Linked DNA regions of Homo sapiens: region 1 is linked to region 2. The links are contacts of gene promoters, found by promoter capture Hi-C in human tissues and cell types (Jung and others, 2019). All regions are on one chromosome and are shown on one strand. Each heading gives the region's core, a stretch centred on a gene start or on the middle of the fragment in contact. The rest is flanking DNA. Distances are from core to core; before and after follow the strand shown. Region 1 has its middle 30 kb from the start of CST1. Region 2 holds the start of CST2 (cystatin SA).

The links. Contacts are between HindIII fragments. The study calls those that stand out against the background at their distance.
Region 1: a fragment that was not itself captured here is called in contact with the fragment with the promoter of CST2 in region 2 in 1 of the 25 tissues and cell types used here (thymus).

What each region holds. Positions count from the first base shown.
Region 1 is chr20:23,777,845-23,783,811 of GRCh38, forward strand. No RefSeq gene overlaps it. Among named protein-coding and RNA genes, the nearest start is that of CST1, 30 kb to the left of the region's middle. The HindIII fragment of the contact is 9,889 bases long and covers 1-5,967 here.
Region 2 is chr20:23,825,479-23,831,698 of GRCh38, forward strand. It overlaps CST2 (cystatin SA), which reads right to left and starts at 1,251. Exons shown (of 3, transcript NM_001322.3): 1 at 955-1,251. The coding sequence starts at 1,182. The HindIII fragment of the contact is 9,318 bases long and covers 1-3,727 here.

The DNA.
Region 1 (5,967 bases), core at 1,163-3,662, 46 kb before region 2:
GGTACCCATTACCAGATAATGTACGTTATATCCACTAGGTGATATTTCACATTCACCACCATCCCACTCTCCCACCTTTGAGCCTCCACTGTCTATCATTCCACTCTGCATGTCCGTGAGTACCCATTGTTTAGCTCCCACTTAACAAGTGAGAGCATGCAGTTTTTGATTTTCAGTTTGAATCACTTCAATAAGGATAACGGCCTCCAGTTCCATATCCGTTGCTGCAAAAAAACATAATTTCATTCATTTTTGTGGCTGAGTATTACTCCATGGGGTGTGTGTGTGTGTGCATATATATATATATATATATACACACATATACACACGTATACATATATACATATATATGTATACGTGTGAGTATATATATATATATATATATGTAGTATTCATACACACACAAACCACCTTGTTTTATCCAACTGTCCATCTGTCCATTGATACCATGACTTTTCTATGTGAAAAGTGCTGCAAGAAACATACAAGTGCAGGTGTCATTTTTACATAATGATTTCTTTTTAGAGGGTACCTATCCAGTAATGGAACTGCTGGATCACAGGGCAGTTCTGCTTTTAGTTGTTTGAGAAATCATCAGTTTTCTATAGAGGTTGCACTAATGTACACTTCCACCAACAGTGCATAATTTTTTTCTTTTCCCCACATCTTCTCCAATGTCTGTTGTTTTTTGACTTTCTTTTGAGACAGGATCTCACACTCTTACCTGGGCAGAAAGGCAGTGGCACGATCATACCTAACTATAGCCTCAAACTCCTGAGCTCAAATGATCCACCTGCCTCAGCCTCCTGAGTAGCTAGTACTACAGGCCCATGGCAAGACATTTTTATTTTTTGTAGAGACAGGGTTTCACTATTTTGTCCAGGCTGGTCTTGAAATCCTGGCCCCAAGCAATCCTCCCATTTTGGTCTCTCAAAGTGCTGTGATTATAGACATGAACCACTGCACTCTGCTGTCTTTTGACATTTAAAAACAGCCTTTCTCCCTGGTGTACAATGATATTTCATTGTGGTTTCAATTTGCATTTCTCAGATATTTAGTCATGTTGAGCATTTTTTCACAAGCATGTTTGCCACTTGTATGTCTTCTTTTGAAAAATATCTGTTTATATGCTATGCCCACTTTTAAAAATTTTACTTTAAGTTCTGGAATACATGTGCAGAATGTGCAGGTTTGTTACATAGGTGTACATGTGCCATGGTGGTTTGCTGCACCTATCAACCTGTCATCTAGGTTTTAAGCCCCACATGCATTAGGTGTTTGTCTTAATGCTTTCCCTCCACTTGTCCCCCAGTCTCTGACAGGCCCCGATATGTGATTTTCCCCTCCCTGTGTCCATGTGTTCTCACTGGTCAACTGCCACTTATGAGTGAGAACATGTGGTGTTTGTTTTTCTGTTCCTGTGTTAGTTTGCTGAGAATGATGGTTTCCAGCTTAATCTATGTCCCTGCAAAGGACATGAATGCATTCTCTTCTATGGCTGCATAGTGTATGTGCCACATTTTCTTTATCCAGTCTATCACTGATGGGCATTTGGGTTCCAAGTCTTTGCTATCGTAAATAGTGTTGCAATAAACATATGTGTGCATGTGTCTTTGTAGTAGAATGGTTTATAATCCTTTGGATATATACCCAGTAATGGGATTGCTGGGTCAAATGGCATTTCTGGTTTTAGATCCTTGAGGAATCACCACACTGTCTTCCACAATGGTTGAAGTAATTTACATTCCCACCAACAGTGTAAAAGCCTTCCTATTTCTCCACAGCCTCGCCAGCATCTGTTGTTTCCTGACTTATTAATGATTGCCATTCTAATTGGCATGAGATGGTATCTCATTGTGGTTTTGATTTGCATTTCTCTAATGACCAATGATGATGAGCTTTTTTTCATGTGTTTATTGGTTGCATAAATGTCTTGAGACGTGTCTCTTCATATCCTTTGTGCACTTTTTGTGCAAAGGTCTGGATATTAGACCTTTGTCAGATGGATAGATTGCAAAAATGTTCTCCCTTTCTGTAGGTTGCCTGTTTACTCCAATGATAGTTTCTTTTGGTGTGCAGAAGCTCTTTAGTTTAAATAGATCCCATTTGTCAATTTTGACTTTTGTTGCAATTCCTTTTGATATTTTAGTCATGAAGTTTTTGCCCATGCCTATGTCCTCAATGCTATTGCCTAGGTTTTCTTCTAGGGTTTTTATGGTTTTAGGTGTTACATTTAAGTCTTTAATCCATCTTGAGTTAATTTTTGTATAAGATATAAGGAAGGGGCCCAGTTTCTGTTTTCTGCATATGGCTAACCGGTTTTCCCAGCACCATTTATTAAATAGGGAATCCTTTCCCATTGCTTGTTTTTGTCAGATTTGTCAAAGATCAGATGGTTGTAGATGTTTGATGTTATTTCTGAGGCCTCTGTTCTGTTCCCTTGGTCTATATCTCTGTTTTGGTACCAGTACCATGCTGTTTTAGTTACTGCAGCCTTGTAGTGTAGTTTGAAGTCAGGTAGCATGATGTCTGCAGCTTTGTTCTTTTTGCTTAGTATTAGCTTGGCTATATGGGATCTTTTTTTGATTTCATATGAAATTTAAAGTAGTTTTTTTTTGTAATTCTGCAAAGAAAATCAATATGATAGCTTGATGGGAATAGCATTGAATCTATAAATTACTTTGGGCAGTATGGCCATTTTCATGATATTGATCCTTCCTATTCATGAGAATGAATTTTTTTCCATTTGTTTGTGTCCTGCCTTATTTCCTTGAGCAGCTGTTTGTAGTTCTCCTTGAAGAGGTCCTTTGCTTGCCTTGTAAATTGTATTCCTAGGCATTCTATGCCCACTTTTTTTGAGATGGAGTCTCACTCTGTTGCCCAGGCTGGAGTGCAATGGCATGATCTTGGCTCACTGCAGCCTCCACCTCCTGGGTTCAAGTGATTCTCCTGCCTCAGCCTCCCGAGTAGCTGGGATTACAGGCACGTGCCATGAGGCCTGGCTAATTTTTGTATTTTTTTTTTTTTTAGTAGAGACGGAGTTTCACCATTTTGGTCAAGCTGGTCTCAAACTTTTGACCTCGTCATCTGCCCGCCTCGGCCTCTCAAAGTGTTGGGAGGGCCCCTGCCTTCCCAGCACATGCCTCAGTGAGCCTCTTGCCTGTGAATCTCCATCTGAGTTGGTTCCCAGGAACCCTAACCAAGAGATGGTGGAGTCAGGACCCACACCACAAATATCTTGCCTTTTAACCACAGTGGGTGTTAGGTTTGTGAAAGTTTGGAAAATTTTTGTCTAGGAGATTGGATATCTCCCTTCAATAGATGATCTCAATGTTCTCACACCCATGAGACCTGCTGAAGAAAACCAATGCTTCATCTGGAAAGTTCCTTGTTCCCAAAAATCGCTTACTCAGCTGGGTCTTTTTTCCCCCTCTTCATCCCTAGTGAAATGCAAACCAAAGTATCCATCTGTATTGGACTTGGTGAAATATTTTCACTCATATAATTTCATTTGATCTAGCTGTTGAGGAAGGTTGGGCAGGTACCAGAAACCCTTTTTACTCTTAAGAAAATAAGTAGGAGGTAGGTTGAGGATAAGATGTCAGGTCATGTAATTTTCAGCTTAATTATGTTCTTGTCACACAGTAAGCTTCATTTGCCACCCTGGCTCTGGGACTGACACTAAGTGATGTGTCAGCTCCATCACTCCTAGGAGCGTCCTGGCCGCAGGTAGCAGGAGTCCTGAGAAACACTTGCCGCCTCTCCCACGATGACACTTGTTATTTAACAAAGGCTGTGGGAATGGTGTTCACAGAGTTGCAGCATCCTCAGCAGGGGCCCAGGTGGTTTCCTTCCATCTTCTCCATCATTCCTTGGGCTTTTGTTCTTGGGCACACAGTTCATGAGTGAAAGGTGGACACCATAGCCCTAGACATCCTGTCCCACACTACAGCCTGAAAGGTGAGGAGTAGGAGCAGGCGGAGGTCACAGGGCGTGAGAGGAGGGTTGAGGGAGAGAGAGAGAAAGAGACAGAGAGATAGAGGTAGAGAGAGAGAAAGAGAGAAAGAGAGAGAGAGAACTCTCCTCAGGGGGCTTTTCTCTGTTTATCCAGCAGATACTCTCTTAGTAGCAACCCGGCCGAGTGCTTAGCAGTTGCTGGCTGGACCTGAGCTCCATTTCCCCAGGGGTGAGGAAGGCTTGGAAGTCCATTGCCTGATACTTTCACTGTTTGCACTCAGGGGCAGGCAAGAGGAAAGGAACTGACAATGGCTGGTCTCCAGAACAAAGTCACTTATATGAGTGTTCATCGAGAGCTTGTAGAAACTCCATTGTACTCTGAAGTTTATGAATGTGTTTATGCACAGGTGTGCATGCCATTTGGGGTGTCTGAGAAGGATGCCTGAGCTGTGTCAGAGTTGGCAGGAATGGTGGGCTTTGGGGCCCTAAGATATGGAGAGTATCCAATGGGAACTAAGTGGGAAGAGGCTTGCAGAGTTGGCAACCTCCTCACCCCATGATAAAGGAGGGGATGATATGCTGAAACATCACATGTGAAGATGAACACATCACAAGGAAAATGCTCAAATGTGGCAGATAAACCACAAAGCCACAGGGCAATTCCTGTGCCTGCAGCCACCTGCCCTGTAAATCCTTCTCAGTTCATGAGTTTGCAGAGAACCTCTAGGTTCTGCATGCTCCACTTCACCACAGTGACCACCAGAGGGAAGCACTCACCCATGGATGACCAGCCCTTTGGGTGCCTCTACTCCAGCCTCACCCTGCGGAGCAGGCTCTGAAGGTAACCCTGGGGTTGTCATAGCATCTGCCTTGGAGAAAGGAGTTTTGTAAACTAAGCATTCCCTGAGTGCCGTACGGGTTCTGCAGAGGCCCGTCTGCTTGGCTCTGTCCTCGCTGCCCTGGGCTACCTGGGCTACCTGGGCATGTGGGGTTTTATTGATCAGAGCGATGACCAGTAGATGGCACAGTCTTCTGTTCCTGTAGCTCTCCCCAGGGCCCTTGCTGGATATTTCCAGGAAGGAGAGACAGGCCCAGAGCTGACTCTCTCAGAAGACAGGGACCTTCTGAAGGCAGGTGACAATGAACGTGTGGACACCCCGTGGACAAGTCTGGTTTCTATCCTCTCTTCCACTCTCTTCCTCCTCACCCCTTTCCTGGTGCTCCCTCTCTTACTTCCTGCCCCTTTCTAAAACTACCCATCTCCTTCTTTTTCATGGTCAACTTAGTCAGTCGGAGGCATGAATACCATGGAAAAACCACGTTTGCTGCTGTGGTTAAGAAGAACACATGATCCATTACTGAAAAACGGTTTCCCATGCAAGGCGAGGTGTCTGAAGACCAGATTCACCTGAGTCCAGATCTGATGAGCCTGCAAACAGAGGAAAACCTTAACGATAGCTGCTCTGCCTTCGTGCTTATATTCTGCACCAAAGAGCTTTATCTTTTCACATCAAATATCATATCACCACCATCGCCACTATATCATCAATATCACCATAATCTTCACAACTATTGCCACTTCCATAACCACCATCACTATCACCAGCATCACCACCACCATCCCCACAATCATCACTACCACCATCACCATTATCTTTAACACTATCACCATCAATACCACTCCCATGATCACTATCATCATCACCAGCATCATCACCATCACCATCATCATCACCATCACCATAACCTCAACATCATGGTCATCACCATCATCACCACCATCATCATAATCATCACTACCATCACCATCACTATTATCATCACCGTCACCATTACTGCCACCACCAAGACCATCACCATCAACACCAGTACCACCATAATACCCACCATCACTACCATCATTACCACCAACACTATTATCAACATCATCACTATCATCACCACCACCATCATTATCAATACCACCATCTCTGCCATCATCACCATCACCACCACCACTATTACTACCAT
Region 2 (6,220 bases), core at 1-2,500:
CTGGCAGGGTGCTGGGCCTCATGCCCCCTCTTAAATATTGTTTTCTCTGTGCTGGGTAAAAGGATTCATTGAATTCTGCCACCTGTGGCTCAGGGGCAAGGGAACACTGACTCTTTTTACCCATGGGTGTCAGTTTACCCATGTATAAAATAGGCGTCCGGGCCTGATGGTCTGCAATGCCCTGTGCTTCACTCCAAGTTATTGTCATGCTTGAAAGGGAGGTGGAGGCAAGCGGGGACCATGGCACCAGGGAGTGCACCTCCCGTGCAGGGTGAGGGTCCCAGTTGACAGCTGCAGGAGGAGAAATGGGGCTGGTCTGGATTCCTTTGAATTTCCAAGAGAAGGTGGAGGAGCTCTAAAGCCTGTGTCACTATTTGCTGCTCTGCCATGGGATGCAGGTAAAGCTGGGCCCAATAGCCCTTCTGAAGCTCTCTCTTGACCTGACACCTCCTCCTCTCTACTGGGTAACTGCTGTCCTCATCTGGCTGAGGTCTAACTCTGCATCAACTCATAGAGGCAGGGTCAGGCGTGCTCCACCCCAGCAGGGACTCAGCTGCCCTGGGCTGTAGGGGGTGGTCAGCCGGCCTGAGGGTGAAGGCCATTAGCCCTAAAGGGCTGTACCCACGGGTGTGACTTGGGGAGTGAAGTAGGGCTCTGCAGAACAGGAAGCGAAGTTCCTGTGTGGCCCCTGAGGAGAGGACTCAGGGAGGAGGGTGAGCCTCATGGCCTGGATCTCATCCTGAGCAGCATCAAGCCCATCCAGAGTCAGCATAGTCTCCATCCCCCGGGAGCATGCTTAGGCATGAAGGCCATAAGCAGAGAGTCAGGGAAAGCTGAATGAATCTGAGCATTAGATCATGAATGTATCAGTGTTGATGTGCTGCGAATGCTCTTATGGATCGGGCAACAAACAAGGCTGGGACTCAGGACCCCTCAGGTGGAGGCAGCACCCACCTGCTCCCTGGCTCGTAGCACCCGCAGCAGGCGTCTGTAGTACTCATCTTCAGTGGCCTTGTTATACTCGCTGATGACAAAGTGAAGGGCACGCTGTACCCGCTCATCATTGAGGTCTGCATCATAGATGCCACCCTCGATTATCCTGTCCTCCTCCTGGGGGCTCCAGGCCAGGGCCACAGCCTGGGTGGCCAGCAGGAGCAGCAGGGTGCACAGGGGCCAGGCCATGGTCTCCTCGGAGGCAGAGCACAGAGCTGGAGCTGCAGGAGAGGAGGTTGAGAGCCTGAGGCGGGGATCCCAGACCAGCAGGCAGCTGTGCATTTATCCTGCTTTGGCAGCTCAGCCCCACCCCCCTCCATGACCTGCCCCTGACTCCTCCTCCTCTTTCTGCTCATTCCCTCTTTCTCCATCTCTCTTTTCACTCCTCAGAAACCACAAGATCCCTCCCTGCCTAAGTTCTCCCTGCCCCTCCCAGGCCTCCTCCTCTATCTACCCCTCCTCCCCACTCCTGTCCTCACTGCAGCCTCCCCGAGCCATGCCTCTCTTCCCCAGTGCTCCCAAGCTTGAGTCACCAGGTCTCCACAGAGATGACACTTCTCCTTTGGCTATGAAAACAATGTGACCTCCTGTTTGCTCAGAAAAGTGAAAAATACAGGGCTTGGCCTCCGGGGTCTTCAGATATCAGAGGCATCCAGGAGCACTTGGTCACGGTCTCTGAATCTCTGGAACAGGGAGGTTATTTCAGAAGGTTCCAGAAGACCCTGTCCACACCCTATTATGGAGAATTTCTTTGCCAAATTCAAGGGAATTAACCTTTTTTGAAAAGGTCACTGGGTTCTCTTTTCATAACTCATTATTCAATAAAAAAACTTATCACCAGCTACTCCCCGTGCCAGGAGGTCTAGGGCTTGAATACTGAACCTGGATGATGAGCCATAGAGGTGACATTGCAGAGCTGCTGCCCACAGAGATGTGACATGAACCCACGAGCATATGAAAATGTGTAGTAGATGCATTTTAAAAGATGAGAAAAAATGGGTGAAAGTAATGTTTAAAATATTTATCTAACCTAATACAGCCACAATATTATTTCAGCTAATAGGAACTATTATTAATGAGATTTTTTTTTTGTTGGAGGGGTTTTGTAAATCTTTGAAATTCGCTGTGTATTTTTTACACTTAGCCTGGGAGTCATTTTGGACTGGCCCCATTTCAAGTGTCCCGTGGCACATGTGGCAGGTGGCTATGAAACTGTACAGTCCGTTCCTACACAGTGTGTGTAGGGGATGATAGGTTATGGTCAACAATTAGGATCAGGGAGTTATACTCACTCTGTTGGAAGTGAAATAGAACAGGGGCTAGAGAGAGACCACTGGACCCTGGTCAGGGTGGTCTCTATGAGACTGGAGAGGTTGAGAAGCCCCAGGCATTGGGGAACAGCCAGTGCAAAGGCCCTGAGGTGGGATTGGGACATGCCTGCTCCAGGAAGAGGAAGCTCCTGGAGGGGATGTGAGCAGGGAAGGGAATGACCTGGTGTCTCATGGTAACTGTGGGTGGGGCCCACAAGGTGCAGGGAGACACCTGGCAGGCAGTGGGGGTGTCAGAAGAGGGAGCAGAAGCCAAGGGATGAATGTGGGAGCCCACAGGCCTCACTTGCTTCTCTCCTAGGCAGCCATGCTTCCAGCTTCTTTCCTCTATGCACTGCTTGGAAGACCCACCTGATATTTTAAAAATTGCCTTGAAGGAGGTAGAATTTACATACAGTAAGATGCCTAATAGTATGTGCCCACCTGGAAGATTTTGTAAATACATACACCTGTATTACCACTTTGTCCAGACCTCTGACATCTGCCTTGCCCCAGACGGTGTCCTCCTGCCTCTGCAGCTCATCCTCGTGCCCACCCCACCCTGGCAGCCCCTGTCCAGTCCTGTAGACTCCTTTGTCACCTGCCCTTGAGATTCCCAGGAATGGAATCCTGCAGAGCAATCCCAGATGTGTCTTCGTCCTTTGCTCAGCGTGGCTTTCCAGTGGCCCCCAAGTTGCTTCATTGCCAGGATTGGGAGTTCTCCTTCTCCACAGACTGAGAGGACCTAATCACCACAGTGCTCTGTGGGGTGACAAAGTCTCCAGCTTGGGATGCTGTGGGCCTGTGCTGGAATGTGGCTCCAGGATTGGGGAGGATGGAAGGAGGCCCTGAACAGACAGCTGCTCCCTTTGTTCTCTCAACCCAACCCTCCATGCCTGAAGGTGACCCTGTGGCAAATGCCCTTGTGGTGAGGTGGAAGGCTTGGTGAGAAACACCAGGAAACCCTGGGCCTTTGCATGGCATCCAGAGGACTCTCCTGGGAGTAGTGGAGGTGAGGGTCAGACAGAGTCAACCCAGAGCTGCTGGGATCCTGGGTCTCAGCCGTGGCTGGGGCTGCATCAGCAGGACCCGGCAGCAGGAACAATATTACTCATTGGTGTTCATGTTCAGTATTAGGACAGGGGACCTTGTTATCCAAGGCCCAGTGACCATTGCACACCACTGTCAATCCAGCACACCTAGAAAAACCATGCATCCCAGCAGATACAGCAGGTGTCCCAGGGATGGTGTTTACCGCTGGGTGATGGAGGGAAGGTCTTCAAACAGGGCTGCGCAGGATGGCTCCTAGTTAGACAGGGAATGGGGATAAATTCCCAGAGAAGGGAGAGAGAGGGAAGTCCCTTACCAGGTGTTTGTGAGCAGAGTGGTCATCTCCAAAGGGTAGGACTTAGTTCTCCTCTGTGGCTCCCACCTTCCTGGGATAGCTGGGAGTCCAGACTCAGGAAGAGCTGCTGTGCAGAGGATAAGCTGAAGGTCAAGAAATCCTCTCATTTTTTTTTATCACTGGAAAGGAGATGCAGGTTGAAGGGGTGGCCTGCCCCTCCACACCTGTGGGTATTTCTAGTCAGGTGGGATGAGAGGCTGAGAAAAGAAATAAGACACAGAGACAAAGTATAGAGAAACAACAGTGGGCCCAGGGGACCGGCGCTCAGCATACCAAGGACCTGCACCGGCACCGGTCTGAGTTCCCTCAGTTTTTATTGATTATTATCTTCATTATTTCACCAAAAAGGAACATAGCAGGAGGGCAGGGTGATAATAAGGAGAAGGTCAGCAACAAACATGTGAGCAATAGAATCTACGTCATAATTAAGTTCAAGGGAAGGTACTATGACTGGACATGCACGTAAGCCAGATTTATGTTTCTCTCCACCCAAACATCTCAGTGGAGTAAAGAATTACAAGGCAGTATTGCTGCAAACATGTCTCGCCTCCCACCATAGGGCAGTTTTTCTCTCATCTCAGAATTGAACAAATGTACAATCGGGTTTCATACTGAGACATACAGTTCCCAGGGGCAGGCAGGAGATAGTGGCCTTCCTCTATCTCAACTGCAAGAGGCTTTCCTCTTTTACTAATCCACCTCAGCACAGACCCTTTACAGGTGTCGGGCTGGGGGACAGTCAGGTCTTTCTCATCCCACCAGGCCATATTTCAGACTATCACATGGGGAGAAACCGTGGACAATACCCTGCTTTCAAGGGCAGAGGTCCCTGCAGCCTTCCGCAGTGCATTGTGCCCCTGGTTTATTGAGACTAGAGAATGACGACGGCCTTTATCAAGTATACTGCTTGTAAACATTTTGTTAACAAGGCACATCCTGCACAGCCCTAGATCCCTTAAACCTTGATTTTATACAACACATGTTTTTGTGAGCTCCTGGTTGGGTCAAAGTGCCTGGGGCAAAGCTACAAAATTAAGAACATCTCAGCAAAGCAATTATTTAAAGTACAGGTCTTTTACAAAATGGAGTCTCTTATGTCTTCCATTTCTACATAGACACAGTAACAGTCTGATCTCTCTTTCTTTTCCCAAACAGGTAACCCAAATAGTGAGAATTTGCTGGTGGGTGGAGTGTGAGGGAGGGAGGCCAAAGTGCTGATCTGTGCCGTGTATGTGATGACACCACCAGTGGTCATCTTGTGTCAGGATGCTGGCATGCACTGCAGGGAGGGTCAGCTGTCCTGATGCAGCAACCTCTCTAATCTCAGTAGGAAAGATACCAATGTATGTTGCTTTTCTGAGGAGGTACAAGTGCGATGTCCAGTATGGAGTGATAGGAAGTGGCAGGTGGGGGTAGCTGGCCAGCTGCTCCAGATGTTTGATGACCTTAGGCAAATGTTGTGTCTGTTGTGCGTGTGGAGAAAGAGGCTACTTTTTAAAGCGTATTGTCTGGGAGTTCAGACCAGCAGAGATGAGCAGACTTTACCAGTGATGTAGCAACATGTTTGAAAATGATGGAATAGCCAGGTGAGGTGGTGCACCTGTAATCCTAGCTAATTAGGAGAGTGAGTCAGGAAGATTCCTTGAATCCAGGAGTTCAATTCCAGCCTGTGAAACACAGTGAAACCCCCATCTCAAAAAAAATGACAGAACATTTTGTTCCCTGATTTCTATAGTCCACAGTTTTAAGGACACACTAGGAGGGGGCCAGATAGCAACCATGGACTGAGGAACAAGCCTGGGGCCTCCAGCACCCATGTAACCTGGAGGAGTCTAGCTGCCCAGGAGGGGGCAAGTTTTCCTTCTGCTAGGTGATGAAAGAGAAAGCTCTGTTCCCCTAGGCTGCATGGGTGACTACTGATCCTATTATCTGAATTAGCAGGATGAGAAGTTAGGTGAGTGGTAGAAGTTCTCTGCAATAAATGATGAATAATAAGTGAACACTAAGCAATACTACAATAAACAAATGACCAAACACAGAAAGCATCACCTACAGGTGCAGGTGGTGAGGACAACCTGGCCAAGAGTTGAGATTCTGCACATCTGGGTTTTGAGCAACTAACACTTTGATCTATGGTAGGAGCTGAGACTGAACAGCCACAGGATTTGGTGGCTTCTCAAATGGGAAGCCCAGAAGCCCCTTTTACGGAGTGCCTGGAATTCTCTGGGGTCAAGCTTGTCTCTTTCACACTCTATCCCTCCTTCTTTTCTCCCTCTCCTCAAACATGGTGGACACGTGGATGCTTCTAAACTATGAGCCAATGTTGGTAACACATTTGTCTCTGCTAGAACATGTGGATGCTTCTAAACTATGGGCCCATGTTGGTAACACATTTGGCTCTGCTAGGACATGTGGAAGCTTCTAAACTATGGGCCCATGTTGGTAACACATTTGGCTCTGCTAGGACATGTGGAAGGTCCTAAACTATGGGCCAATATTGGTAACACATTTGGCT